Linked DNA regions of Homo sapiens: regions 1 and 3 are each linked to region 2. The links are contacts of gene promoters, found by promoter capture Hi-C in blood cells and fetal thymus (Javierre and others, 2016). All regions are on one chromosome and are shown on one strand. The core of a region is centred on a gene start or on the middle of the fragment in contact, and the rest is flanking DNA. Distances in the headings are between cores, read along the strand shown.

The links. Contacts are between HindIII fragments. The CHiCAGO score rates a contact against its expected background, and 5 or more counts as called.
Region 1: a contact is called between a fragment that was not itself captured here and the fragment with the promoter of TBRG1 in region 2, in 1 of 17 cell types (naive CD4 T cells). The highest score is 5.1, in naive CD4 T cells.
Region 3: a contact is called between a fragment that was not itself captured here and the fragment with the promoter of TBRG1 in region 2, in 1 of 17 cell types (naive CD4 T cells). The highest score is 5.5, in naive CD4 T cells.

Annotation. Positions count from the first base shown.
Region 1 is chr11:124,921,160-124,925,668 of GRCh38, reverse strand. HEPACAM (hepatic and glial cell adhesion molecule) reads left to right here. Exons shown (of 7, transcript NM_152722.5): 2 at 600-941; 3 at 1,659-1,940; 4 at 2,236-2,329; 5 at 2,851-2,924; 6 at 3,211-3,281; 7 at 4,229-4,509. The region is part of intron 1 of LOC107984406 (a long non-coding RNA gene); the gene reads right to left. Among named protein-coding and RNA genes, the nearest start is that of HEPN1, 4.2 kb to the right of the region's middle. The HindIII fragment of the contact is 3,150 bases long and covers 512-3,661 here.
Region 2 is chr11:124,619,710-124,624,286 of GRCh38, reverse strand. TBRG1 (transforming growth factor beta regulator 1) reads right to left here and starts at 1,423. Exons shown (of 9, transcript NM_032811.3): 1 at 1,054-1,423. The coding sequence starts at 1,203. LOC124902779 (a long non-coding RNA gene) reads left to right here and starts at 1,086. Exons shown (of 2, transcript XR_007062932.1): 1 at 1,086-4,577. It overlaps PANX3 (pannexin 3), which reads right to left. Exons shown (of 4, transcript NM_052959.3): 4 at 3,931-4,577. The coding sequence ends at 4,352. RefSeq lists an enhancer at 1,277-1,346. The HindIII fragment of the contact is 1,322 bases long and covers 309-1,630 here.
Region 3 is chr11:125,121,699-125,126,038 of GRCh38, reverse strand. No RefSeq gene overlaps it. Among named protein-coding and RNA genes, the nearest start is that of TMEM218, 12 kb to the right of the region's middle. The HindIII fragment of the contact is 2,749 bases long and covers 1,273-4,021 here.

The sequences.
Region 1 (4,509 bases), core at 837-3,336, 300 kb before region 2:
AACGGGAAGAGGCTCTCGGTATAACTAGAAAGTGGTCTTCAGGCCCCTAAACTTTCCCTTTACTGGCACTGTCTCACGACCCGCTCCTTTCTTTGTGAATCTGTGTTCCATGCTTTCTCCATCTCCTCACCCTCCCAATCCCCAATCAAGAAGATCTGACAAATTCACCCAGAGGTCTAATGACCTATAAGCTTCATAGGGGTAGGGATTTTTGTTGGCTTTGCTCATTGCTATATCCTAAAGACATAGAAAAGTGTCTGGCAGATAGGAGATGTTCAATAAATATTTTTATGAATGGAGCGCATAGGGTGTGGGTGAGCCACAAGAGAAAGGCAATAGACAAAGTGCCAGAGAGGCAGAGGGCTAGGTGGAAAAAGCATTGAAGGCCATGAGATGGCTGTGAGAGAGAACAAAGGGGCAGAAGTGCACAGAGCTACTGTGGGGGAGGAGATAGCACCCAGGCTTAAGAAGCCAGGATTGGCAGGGAGTGAAGAGCCAGAGAGGCGAAGCTTTGGGAGATCAGAGGGCTTAAAGTTGGGAGTGGGCTAAGGAGCCCAGGGCCTGATGCTTCCCTCTTCCTCATGGGCCTCTGTTCACAGACCCCCTGGAGGGGGTGAACATCACCAGCCCCGTGCGCCTGATCCATGGCACCGTGGGGAAGTCGGCTCTGCTTTCTGTGCAGTACAGCAGTACCAGCAGCGACAGGCCTGTAGTGAAGTGGCAGCTGAAGCGGGACAAGCCAGTGACCGTGGTGCAGTCCATTGGCACAGAGGTCATCGGCACCCTGCGGCCTGACTATCGAGACCGTATCCGACTCTTTGAAAATGGCTCCCTGCTTCTCAGCGACCTGCAGCTGGCCGATGAGGGCACCTATGAGGTCGAGATCTCCATCACCGACGACACCTTCACTGGGGAGAAGACCATCAACCTTACTGTAGATGGTAAAGCGCTCTGGCAGGGAAAGAGGCAAGACTGGCAGGTGGGACTAGGGAAAGGTCTGCCCAGCGCACCAGCTAGACTGAGGGAAAACCAACCCAAAAGGCACTTGGGAGCTGAGAATGAGGCAAGTGGACATTAGAAGTTGGCAGACAGGCACAGCACAGCTAACATGTAGAGTGATTGCCATGTGCCAGAAACTATTCTAAGTGCTTTGCATATGTTGACTCATTTAATGCTTATAATAGTCTGGTGATAGTTCATATCATTATCCTAATTTTGCAGATGAGGAAAGTGAGCCACTGAAAGGTTGAATAACTTGCCCAAGGTCACACAGCTAGAAGTGATAGAGCCAAGATTTGAACCTAAACAGTTGGACCTAGGCTTAGCCCAACTGAAATATCTTCCTGGCTGGGTCAGTTTAAGACATTAAAGCCCAGGGTTCATGGCAAGGCATTTGGAAAGAGGGAATGAGGGCAACACCATGTCTGCATTGTTCAGCATTGTACCCGCCATGCCTAATTGGTGCTCCATAAATAGTCAGTGAAACGAATGAATAAGCGATGGGAAAGAACTGGACTTAGGATGTCTGAAGTCTTCTCAGCCCACAGATTGAGTTGGAAGGTAGTGTTAAAGGTGTGTTGGAAGGCAGGGAGCTAAAAAGGGGAAGGGAGACACTTCTTAGCCAATGACTTACAGGCTCCCCCATTCCTGCGGCTCAGTGCCCATTTCGAGGCCACAGGTGTTGGTGGCTTCAACCACTGTGCTGGAGCTCAGCGAGGCCTTCACCTTGAACTGCTCACATGAGAATGGCACCAAGCCCAGCTACACCTGGCTGAAGGATGGCAAGCCCCTCCTCAATGACTCGAGAATGCTCCTGTCCCCCGACCAAAAGGTGCTCACCATCACCCGCGTGCTCATGGAGGATGACGACCTGTACAGCTGCATGGTGGAGAACCCCATCAGCCAGGGCCGCAGCCTGCCTGTCAAGATCACCGTATACAGTGAGTTTCCCCGCAGGCTTTCCTTTAGTACTCAAAGCCCCAAGAGGCAGGTGACCATGAGGGACTGAGGACATCCCAAAGAAATGTCACTGGGGGGAGGGGAACAGAGATGGGCCAACTATCCATGGAGGACACCAACAGGTAGCCAGTGGGTTCTGTACAAGCTCCACCACCAGCATCAGCCAGGCATGCAGCCTGGGGCTCCCCCTCTCTTCCATCCATGGCAGGAAGTTCTGCTCACCACATCTTGCCCCTTTGAAGTCCCTCCTGCCTCTCTGCTTCTCTCTCTCCCTAGGAAGAAGCTCCCTTTACATCATCTTGTCTACAGGAGGCATCTTCCTCCTTGTGACCTTGGTGACAGTCTGTGCCTGCTGGAAACCCTCCAAAAGGTCTGGGTAACTCTCCTGAGCACCTGAGTCCTTCAATCCATCCCAAACCTAAGCCCCATTATTTTCTTAAGTCTCTTTAAATGCCTTTCCTCCCAGGGTTTTGCATCTCTTTCCGAGAGATCCATTCTTCCATTGTGTATGCACCAGCATCTTGTGCTCCAAAGCCCCCACAACCCCAGCACCAGTAACAATAGGTTTTTTCACTGGCCAACCACCTTTTTTGGGACCAGGCACTGTGGCTGTGGTTAGCCTGCTACCTTTTAAGTATGATTATCTGTAGTTTACAGATAATGACACTGAGACTCGGATTGGTTAAATGACTTGCCCACAGTCACAACGCTAGTGACAGACTCAAGGTGCAAACCTAGATGTGATTCCTTCCAAAGCTCATGAACTGTACCCAGCCCATCTTCCTGTCACAAGGCCTCTTTTATGGCCATCAGATCCCTCCCTGTGTCCCCACTGGATCTTCTACTCACATTCAATAATTCGGCTCATAGTGGGGCTGAATTGATTCACAGGAAACAGAAGAAGCTAGAAAAGCAAAACTCCCTGGAATACATGGATCAGAATGATGACCGCCTGAAACCAGAAGGTGAGCTCCCAGCCACCCAATCACCCATCCCATCAACAATCAGATCAGTGGGCTGCTGGGAAAAGGCAGAACTGGGCGACAAGGAAAACAGCTCTGCAGGGACCCTTCCCCCACCAACTGCACGAAGACTGCAGAGGAGGGAAAGGTTTGGCCAAGGTAGGAGCCAGGATATTCAGATATGTTGGTGGAGGTTGTGGCGGGCCATTCGGGAAGCACAGAGAGTAGGTGCCGGCTGGTGGGGAGAGTCTGTACCTGGGCCAGCCACCCGCTTCTCTCCCCTGTGCAGCAGACACCCTCCCTCGAAGTGGTGAGCAGGAACGGAAGAACCCCATGGCACTCTATATCCTGAAGGACAAGGTGAGCGGCTCTGGACTGGGTGCCCAGAAACATGCAGTGATCCCCTCCCACATGCCTGATGCTAGGGAGCCATACTATATTCCTATCCCTTTATAGCAGCAGTCCCCAACGGTTTTGGCACCAGGGACTGGTTTCAAGGAAGAAAATTTTTCCATGGATGGTGATGCGGGTGGTTTCAGGATGAAACTGTTCCACTTCAGATCATCAGGCATTGGATTCTCTTAAAGAGCGTGCAACCTAGATCCCTCGCATGCTCAATTCACAATAGGGTGTGTGCTCCTACGAGAATCGAGAATCGAATGCAGCCACGAATCTGACAGGAGGCGGAGCTCAGGCGATAATGCAAGCCATGGGGCATGTCTGTAAATACATATGAAGCTTTGCTCTCTGGCCTACCGCTCACCTCCTGCTCTGCCGCTCCCTTCCTAACAGGCTATGGACCAGTACCAGTCCTCGGCCTGGGGGTGGGGACCCCTGCTTTATAGTACTCAGAATAACCCTGTGAAATATTTGTGTCATGCACATTTTAGAGATTAGAAAAAACAAGGCTGTGAGATTAAATGACTTGCTCAGGATTAAACAAGTCAATGAGTGGCAGATCTAGGTTTCAAACCTAGGTCTTTGGACACCAGTTCTGGTGATTTCCCCAGTATTCCACAACTAACTGTCCCAGGCTGTCCACGACGGGTGGAAAGAGGAGAGTAAAGGGGAAAAGCACTCAAATCATCGCATTTCAACATTTACTTAACACCTATTATGTGCTAGGAGGCCCCATGCTCAGTGTGGAATATCGCCAGGAAAACCAGACCTGTCTGCAGCCTTCCAGGAGGTGGGCGTGCAGAGGGAAACTAGGTCCCTCCCCTCGGAATTCCAGCAAGCTCTAACACCAGGCGCGCTCCCAGGCTGGGCTGACTGTCCCCTGACCCCTGCGGCGCGTGTCCTTGCAGGACTCCCCGGAGACCGAGGAGAACCCGGCCCCGGAGCCTCGAAGCGCGACGGAGCCCGGCCCGCCCGGCTACTCCGTGTCTCCCGCCGTGCCCGGCCGCTCGCCGGGGCTGCCCATCCGCTCTGCCCGCCGCTACCCGCGCTCCCCAGCGCGCTCCCCAGCCACCGGCCGGACACACTCGTCGCCGCCCAGGGCCCCGAGCTCGCCCGGCCGCTCGCGCAGCGCCTCGCGCACACTGCGGACTGCGGGCGTGCACATAATCCGCGAGCAAGACGAGGCCGG
Region 2 (4,577 bases), core at 174-2,673:
CTTCAAACTCTCAATGTTCAAAACAACATCGCTTTTTCTTCACAAAATCTTCATTATGTATTTGATGGAACCAATATCCTTGAAATAACATAAATTCCAAGCTTTAGGTACCTTTGACGTATAGGGGATAAAAGAAAGGGAACAGTCAATCAGATGCTAAGTTCTCTTAGTTTTACTTTTCTTGTTTCTCTCCAGTGCAAATAGCAAGCAATACACATAGCAAGTGCTGAATAAGTGCTTTTGGAATGTGTATTCTAATTTCTGAACCTTTCCTTATGCTTCCAAAAATGCTGAGAGACGTTCAAGCTTTTGGTAGAGAGAAGAGATGAACTGTTGACTTGGATGTGGGGGGACATTTGAGGACTCCACCCCTATTTCCAAGCACTGAGGCAAGCCAAACTATTCTAATATAAAGTTATGGCTGGCAAGCTATATTAAGTTTATTCACTCAATAAATCCAGTGCTTCTACAATAAAAGAAAGGAAGAAACACTTGGAACACTCAAAGGTTAGAGGGGGGAAATTACTGACAGTTTCATGTACCTCTTTGGGCAAAGGGTCAGTTATGGGGATTTGAGGTGCTCAGAAAATAGTCTGTGTACTGGAAGTCATAAAACGGAATCAGGTTTATCTAAGTTGGAGTCAGGGCTCTGACACAGTACCCTTGGGCAAATCATCTCTCTGGGCTTCAGTGTTCTCATTTTACAAATAATGCCTAATTCTCAGGGCTGTATCTCGAGAATCAAACACATTTCCTAGAGTCCTGCAGTAACAACGATGACTAAAATTTATTGGTATGTCTTTTACGCACCAAGCACTTTTCTTTACTCATTTAATATTCATTATTCTGCAAGACAGTTACTAGCTCATTTACAGATGAGGACACAGAGAAATTACGTAATTTGTCCAAGGACACAAGGCTAACAAGTAGTAACGTATACGGAAAAGCCAACACTGTATTAATACTGTCACACTGGGAAGGGGGAACAGCTTGGGGAAAGATTTTGTGAGGGAGTCTCCAGGAGGGGACCGGCTGAACGTGGGTCAGACTCACAAACACCGTGGCCTTGGCCGCTTTGCGCAGCCGCAGGTACTTCAGCCGGTACTTCTCATTCTGGCTCTTCTTCGGGAGCTTTTTCATCCTGGCCTTGCTGGACTGCAGCGGAGCCCGCGGCGAGGAAGCGAGGCCGTCCAGCAGGCTCATGGTCCAGCCCCGCTACGGGGGCCCCAGGACGCTGCCGGCATCGGATCCTAAGTCGGGGAGCGGGCGGGAGCGCTGGCTTTGTCTGTTCCGGGCTAGCGGAATCGGGCCTCTAGGAATCTAGCTCTCCGGGACGTTCCCAGGGCTGACCGCAGGGCCAGAGACACCCGCAACCGAACGGGCTCCCGGCGCCTCCCAGCACTTCCGTGTCTGTCTTGGAAGTAAGCCCTTCCCGGAAGTTACGTCCCGGTGTCGGCAGTGTGTAACTTCCGGGGCAGGGAGAGTAGGGTGGTCTGGGCGGTGCGATCGTGGGCACCGGGAGGAAAGAGACAGCTGGGGGCTAGTGCTGGATGAGGAGAGGAGGGAGGGCCGGCGGCCGTGTGCTTAGCTGAAGGGTACTATAGTTGAACCAACGAACTAACAAGAAGCTTACCAATGCGAGCTCTCATTCACGCTCCCCCGCTGGGCCACTGCGTTTTAATACGTTTTTCATGCTTCGTGCAGACAGGCTTTCCCAGACTGTAGGACAAAGTGAGCCCAAGTGCTGGGACTCTGCTTCTTTCCCTGCTTCGTTCCTTTCTGCAGCTCACAGAAATGTGTTTGCAGGGCCTCCTAATGCTATCATCTTCCCAGGAGCTGGGAACACAGTAGTGAACAGGAAGAAAGGCCTTGGCTCTTTCTAGTAGGGAAGATGAGAGATTTAACACGCAGTTTTAATACTAGCACTAAGTAGGCACTCAGTAAATGTTTGTCTAGTGAAACCAGAAGTGTATTTCTGTACATAATATGTACATGTATATGGTTCTAACTTTACAACCAAGGTCTATTTAAAATTAGGGAAGATAGAAAAATCTTTAGGGTGCGGTATTGGTAAGTGACCCAGGCTGGATGGCAGAAGGCTTGCTTGCATCTTCTTCCAGCGATGCCAATAACTAGTTCAGTAACTCTCTAGTTTTTTCTCTCAAAAAAAAAATTTGCTGTTCTGCTGTATTTTGTCCTTGCGGGCTTTGGGGTCTGACTTTATTTGTATTATTTATTTTCATATACATGTATCACATCTAGGGGGAAGAAAAGTGCTATCCTTTGTCCTAGTTTGCAGGCTGTTTTGGCCAATGGACTTTAGTGGGATTTGCATGAAGATATTTTTTGTTTCTTCTTCATTGGACACATTTCCTTACACTTACAAAACATTTCATTCGAACTTTAGAAATTTAGAAAATATAGTACAAGAAAGGTTTAAAAATCCATAATGCTACCACTTGGAATGAACTACTTTTACCATGTTAGTATATGTGTCTAATATTTTATGCATTTTTGTATAGGTTAGACAATACTGAAAATAAAGTTTTCTTTTTGTTCATTTACCATTGTATCATTTCAGTTTCACAAATGTTAGTATAGCTTCCTTATAAGCATAATTTTAAGTGGCTGGTTAATATTCCAGTTATGGCTATATTATATTTTGCATAATTATTTCCATGTTCTTTGACTTTTTGGTCAATTCCATTAAAAGCATATCTTTGCGTCCAAAGCTTTTTCCATATAGGACTGTTCAGAGGCTGGATATGTGTGCTCCACAAAGGTCATGCCACTGAGCAACTCATTCAGTCCTTATTTGTTTAGAAGAATATTTACCTAGTGCCTATTATGATACCACCTTTAAGAACCTTAATTTAAGAAGGAAAGACAGACAAGTAAATTGGCAATGTTAATATGGTATAATAAGTTTGTTTCAGAGGTAGGTTTTATTTTATTTGGCAGCACTCAGGGAAGGAGGGAGGAGATAGGAAAGGTTTCTTAAAGGAGATACATCTGGGCAGACTCTGAAGGAGAGGTAGTGGTTGGTTGGCCCAGTGAAGAACAAAGGGGGGCATGCTGGATGGTGGAGACAGCATATGCAAAGGCTCAGTATGGGAACTGCAAGTAGTTGATCAGTGTGAAAGATGTGTGTAGAGAGAAGCAAGAAGAGAGACTGAAGCAGTAAGTAGGGTTTTTTGGGTCATGAAAAGTCTTGTGTACCAACTGAAGAGTTGGACTTTGACCCAGTGACAATAGGAAACCATCTATCAGCTCTTTGCTTGTGTTAGGTAAACTTACCTGAATCTGTCAGAAGCAACACAACTTTTCTACTTAACTATACGAAGAAGGGTCTAAATGGCCTATGCAAAAATTCTTTAAAGAAATGCATAATGTGTAGCTCTAAAAAGAAATATAAAATGGCAGACAGCATGATATTGTGTCTGAGTGTGGTCTTTGAAGTCAGACCAAAGTTCCATTAACTACAGGCATAGGAATGGGAGTTAGAAGCTAAAATAGGGTAATAAATCAGAAGAGAAAGAAGTTCAATAGCACTTTACTGTCTACCCATTTGTAAGTGCTTGCTATTCAGTGATTAGCTGTAAGGGAAGGCATAGTATCCTCTGGAGTATTAAAAGCATACCTGGCTCCGTTAACAGTTGTGAAGAAGTCCATAGCCCATAATCCCAGCCCCTGGTGAAATGAGTTCCTGGTTTAGATGGTGAAAAGTGTATCTGGGCACCTGAAGGCTCCACTCACGGCTGAGACATGGCCCCAGCCTTGTTCTACTATGTCCTTACATCCTAAGAGCAGATTACAAATTGAAGCCATCATCTCCCAGCACTTTGGAGGCTACAGAGGACTTGGACAAGGTTGATAACTTCTACAAAGCAAGCTGGGTAAATTCCTAGGATTTCAGGCCACACCAAAGGGTTTCCAGGGGTTTACATCTTTATTAATCTTTTGCCAGATTGCCTCACTTGCTCTCTGGGGTAAGCTGAATGTGCGTTCAAGAAAGGATATGGAATTGCCTCCATAAACGGACTTTAGAATCTTCTTTCCTTGCAGCATGTCTAGACTGTATTTCTTTTTATTTATACTATCCTCATAGAATGTTCTAGACTTAATTTTTTAGCTCTTTGACTCTTCGGCTCCAGCTTTCACATTTATTTCCATGTCTTGGTTATGTCTTCTCACTTTTAGGATAACATGATAAAAGATATATGATTCAGTTAAATCCAAGCTTAGCAGTTTTAAAATGTGTAATTTTTTGGTGTGTATGTGTATTAGTGTGCATGTCTTATGAGGAAGGAGAGAGACTTTCCACAAGCTTTCTTGCTCCATGGTTTCTTAACTATGGGTGTTCATCACATGCCGAGTTGGTGAGGTGTTTGGGTTTTGAGGGTTCTAAGCCAGCCAATAAAGTCATAAAATCAACTACTGTGTCAATATTGTGCTTCTGGGTGGTTGTATCCTTCAACACACATAAGACACTCAGCCAGCTAAAAGAGATGAGCTCAGAGATGTTAGCTCGGAGGAAAAGAAGGATCACATTGAGGTCATTGATGGGACATCCTAGC
Region 3 (4,340 bases), core at 1,398-3,897, 500 kb before region 2:
TGAGTCTTTGATTCTAACTACTTGTTACCAGCCCTGCCTACATCCGTCTCTTAACCAAGAGACCAGCTTTCACTCAGCATCTCATGTTGGTTGATTTCTGAGAAGGATGTGGTACTCCTGTCTGAAGCTGCCCTGTATCCTGATTTCCTGCCAGGATGATCAAAATTGATTTCTACCAGGAGGATAATCCAGCCAGGGCTGTTCTGGGGCAGAAGACAGAGTTACCATGGGGCCACTATACTCTTTTTTAAGATTATTGGGGGCCAGGCATGGTGGCTCATGCCTGTAATCCCAGCACTTTGGGAGACAGAGGCAAGTGGATTGCTTGAGGCCAGGAGTTCAATAACAGCCTGGCCAACATGGCAAAATCCCCTCGCTACTAAAAATAGAAAAATTAGCTGGGTGTGGTGGTGCACATCTGTCATCCCAGCTACTCCAGAGGCTGAGGCATGAGAAACACCTGAATCTGGGAGGGGAATGTTGCAGTGAGCCAAGATTGTGCCATTGCACTCCAGCCTGGGCGACAGAGGGAGAATCAATCTCAAAAAAAAAAAAAGAAAGAAAGATTATTTGGTCTTTGGAACTAGTGATCTGCTCAAACAGAGACCCTTAGACTAATAAACTGATGAAGGGTAGAATGTCCGATGCACTTTGTTCCTTCTATGAGCTCCTTAAGGAGAAGAAAAATACATAGAAGTCTATCTGACCCACTGTTCCAGCAACCTGGAGAAGAGGTGTCATCTGCCATGTCAGTTTCTCATCTGGCTGTCATGCTGGGCTTCTTGGAACACTTCTGACCCCAAACAGGACCTAGAACAATGGATGCACATGGAAAGTGCCCAATAAATACTCGTCGACTTTAATGAAAAAGTAGTTTTAGCATTCTACAATATCTCTGTGGGATTCAGAGAACTCTTGCTCTGGTGTAGAGGCTAAAAGACACAGAAAAGGAACTAAAATGAGTTTGGCACTGAGACAGAGTAAAGAAGTGTCTATAGCCTGGCGTGGTGGCACATGCCTGTAGTCCCAGCTACCTGGGAGGCTGAGGCAGGAGAATCGCTTGAACCTGGGAGGCGGAGGTTGCAGTGAGCCGAGATCACGCCACTGCACTCTAGCCTGGGTGACAGTGCAAGACCCTGTCTCAAAAAAAAAAAAAAAAAAAAAGGAAGTGTCTAAACATGAGCTAGAGATCATGTCTTCCTGTAACATCCCAGATTATCCACATGCAGTGACTCAGGAGCTAATGTTGGCAGACAGAAGAGAATGAAAGCTTATTTCTAAGACTCTGAAATCAGTGGAAGTGCTCCATCTCTATGATCCAAGGAACACCCAGGCCTATTTCTGACAAAGAGAAAAAAGGAAATAAAAATTCTTGCTCAGGAAACTAAAAAATTTTTGCAGAACTGAAGAACTTGCTGTTTCATAGCTTTAGCTAAACACGTCTAGCTTGATTATCAAATATTAGAATTGGGAGAAACAAGCACTGATGCAAGTAAAAGAATATTCTGCTGCTGATTTAAAGACAAGTGAATCGCTAAATATTTTTATTAGCAGCAAATTTGCTGCTTGCTGGAACTAATTTCACGCCCTGTAGATATGGTGCTTAAGTTGGAAATGGCGTTAAATTGCTCTCTCCTTGAGGCGGGTAGGATTTCTGGTGGCAGCAGCCACTAGGTGGCACCGACAAGGTAGCTCCTCAAAGATAGGCAGCTTTGGAACCAATGATAGGAAAGTCCAGAGGAAGTCCTGCCTTACATTTCCCTTTCTCCTTCCAAAGAAAAGCCCGTGCTCCAGATAGCAAAATCTTTCAGAAAGGAAGTTGCCTAGAAAGGAACATTACTCCTAAGGGTCTTGAATTTCCCAGTTCAGTCTTTTCTCTAAGTTCGTATAACACTTTCAGTTAGCACGTCCAATTTGGCAATCAGTTAGAATTTATAATTTCTTGCATGTTAGCACTATCTCTTCAACCACACCACAGCTTCTAGAAAGGACAGGTTACATTTTATTGCCAGTACTGGAGCCCAGGTGAGCAAACAGTGTGTATAACTTGCGGGCTGGGGAGCTAGACTAGAAGAACTGAGGCAGAGACAGCAACACAAAGGATGAGACCAGGTTAGATCCAAGGCAGGACAGAATGCAGAGGTCACAGCACAATTGGGCAACTGAAATCAGGTGGGAATTCCAAAGCAGAAGCAAATCCAGGACTGAGGTCAAGGAATTGCCGTGGCTCAGAATCCAGTAAGTGAGCCAAAGTCAGAGGACACGTTAAATAATAAAGGTCAGAGCAAGCTGTGGGTGGACAAATAAATCAAGGGAATGCAGAACCCAGATGCCTAAGGGAAAAATAAAGCCAAGAGGCCAACAGGTCAAAGTGAAAGTCAGGAAAAACATAATAGCAGGGCAAAACACACACAAAAAGTTTGACGTACTCGTTAATCAGATGTTTAGTGGTCAATTCATGCTAGAACCAAAGTGGATTCATTAAGAATAAGTTTTGCTAAATTGAACTTATTTCCTTGTGCAATAGAGTTATGAAGTTGATCAATCTGATTGTGTTATTTACTCTCCTGCTTAAATACTTCTGACTTAGCTAAACCCTTCACCTACAGAATAAAGCCAAAATTCCTTATCATAGCATTCAAGACCCTTCACACACTTTTCAGCTCTTGACACTCATTTCCCTGAACCTGGTCCTTAACTCACACTAGAATATTTGCTATTTCTGAATCATGCCAAAGACATTCACTTTTCTATGCTTTGCTTCTCCTATTTCTCCACTCTGGAATTTCTTCCTATCTCCATTCTCTACTTATCTCACAAAAACCCTATGTATTTTCTTTTCTTTCCCTTTCTTTTTTTTTTTTTTTTTGAGACAGGGTCTCATCCTGTCACCCAGGCTGGAGTGCAGTGGTGTGATCTCAGCTCACTGCAACCTCTGCCTCCTGGGTTCAAGCGATTATCATACTTCAGCCTCTGAGTAGCTGGGATTATAGGCACATGCCACCATACCTGGCTCATTGTTTTGTGTTTTTAGTAGAGACAGGGTTTCACTATGTTTGCCAGGCTGGTCTTGAACTCTTGACCTCAAATGATCCACCTGCCTCCCAAAGTGCTGGGATTACAGTCATGAGCCACCATGCCCGGCCTAAAAAAAACTCTGTATTTTCAAGGCTCAGTCAAATGTCACTTTTTTGTGTGAAGCCCTCCTTTCTCTTTCTGCACAATGAAGAATTAATCTCCTTTTTCTCTAGGTTTTCAATATACTTTGTTTATACTGCTACTGTATAATATAATACATATGAGATGATACATTATCTATTATATTGTATATTTCTATCTATCATCTATATCTATCCCTTTAATGCAAATTAGAGGTAACACATACATTAACTATACCTGTATTAATTTGGATCTGGTGTTTATATGTCTGTCGCCTCTGCTAGATGTCATCTCTTTAAGACAAAACTAATATCTTGGTCATTTTTGTTTCCACAACACCTAACAAAGAACCTAGAAGATAGGAGACCAACCAATATATGTTTATTGATGTGAATGAGAGGAAATACCAAATATGATGTAACTTCATTTAAACAGAATATTTAATAAATCTCTCAGGATTTCAACAGAATGTTTAATAAATCTTCAACATTGTGAATAATGTTGTACAGTGCGTCATTAGGAAAACTGAAGCTGCCTGAACACATACTGGGAGGAGGTCTCCAATGCTACCAAGTTCTATCCAAGGCAGCATTTTTATTAGTGACTTGGATTAAAACATACAAAGAATTTTTATCAGATGTGAAATGAGACATACTGATATCATAGGAAAGAAAAATAAGACTTTAAAGATGAGTCTAACTGCCTCAAATGTTGGGCTCCAACTGACAAGGTAAAATTTAAATAAGTGTAAAGGCCTACATGTAAATTTAAAAAATAAATTGCACATACCAAGTATGGTGGAGATTTGACATGGCAGCAACTAATGTGCAGAAGAGTTAGATGCTTTGGTTAATCAAAAGCTTTAAAAGCAGTGAGATGTGACCAGTAACAATCTAAGGACATTGGAATCACTAATGGTCATAGGCGTCCAGCTCAGAAGAAGCATCGTAGTAGCATCACTGCACTTCCTGCCTTTCAGGGCCGATTTAAAGTATTATGAGCAATTCTACCACAAGATTCTAGAAGATACATTAATAAAGCACAGTTCATCCAGAAAACTGTGACTAGAATGGTAAAGGAGTCTAGAAACCATGAAATAGACAAAGAATGAGGGAGCTCTGTGGAAACCTGGACACTTGAAAAACTGAAAACTAAGGGAAGGTTTGAGAGGCGTCTTCATG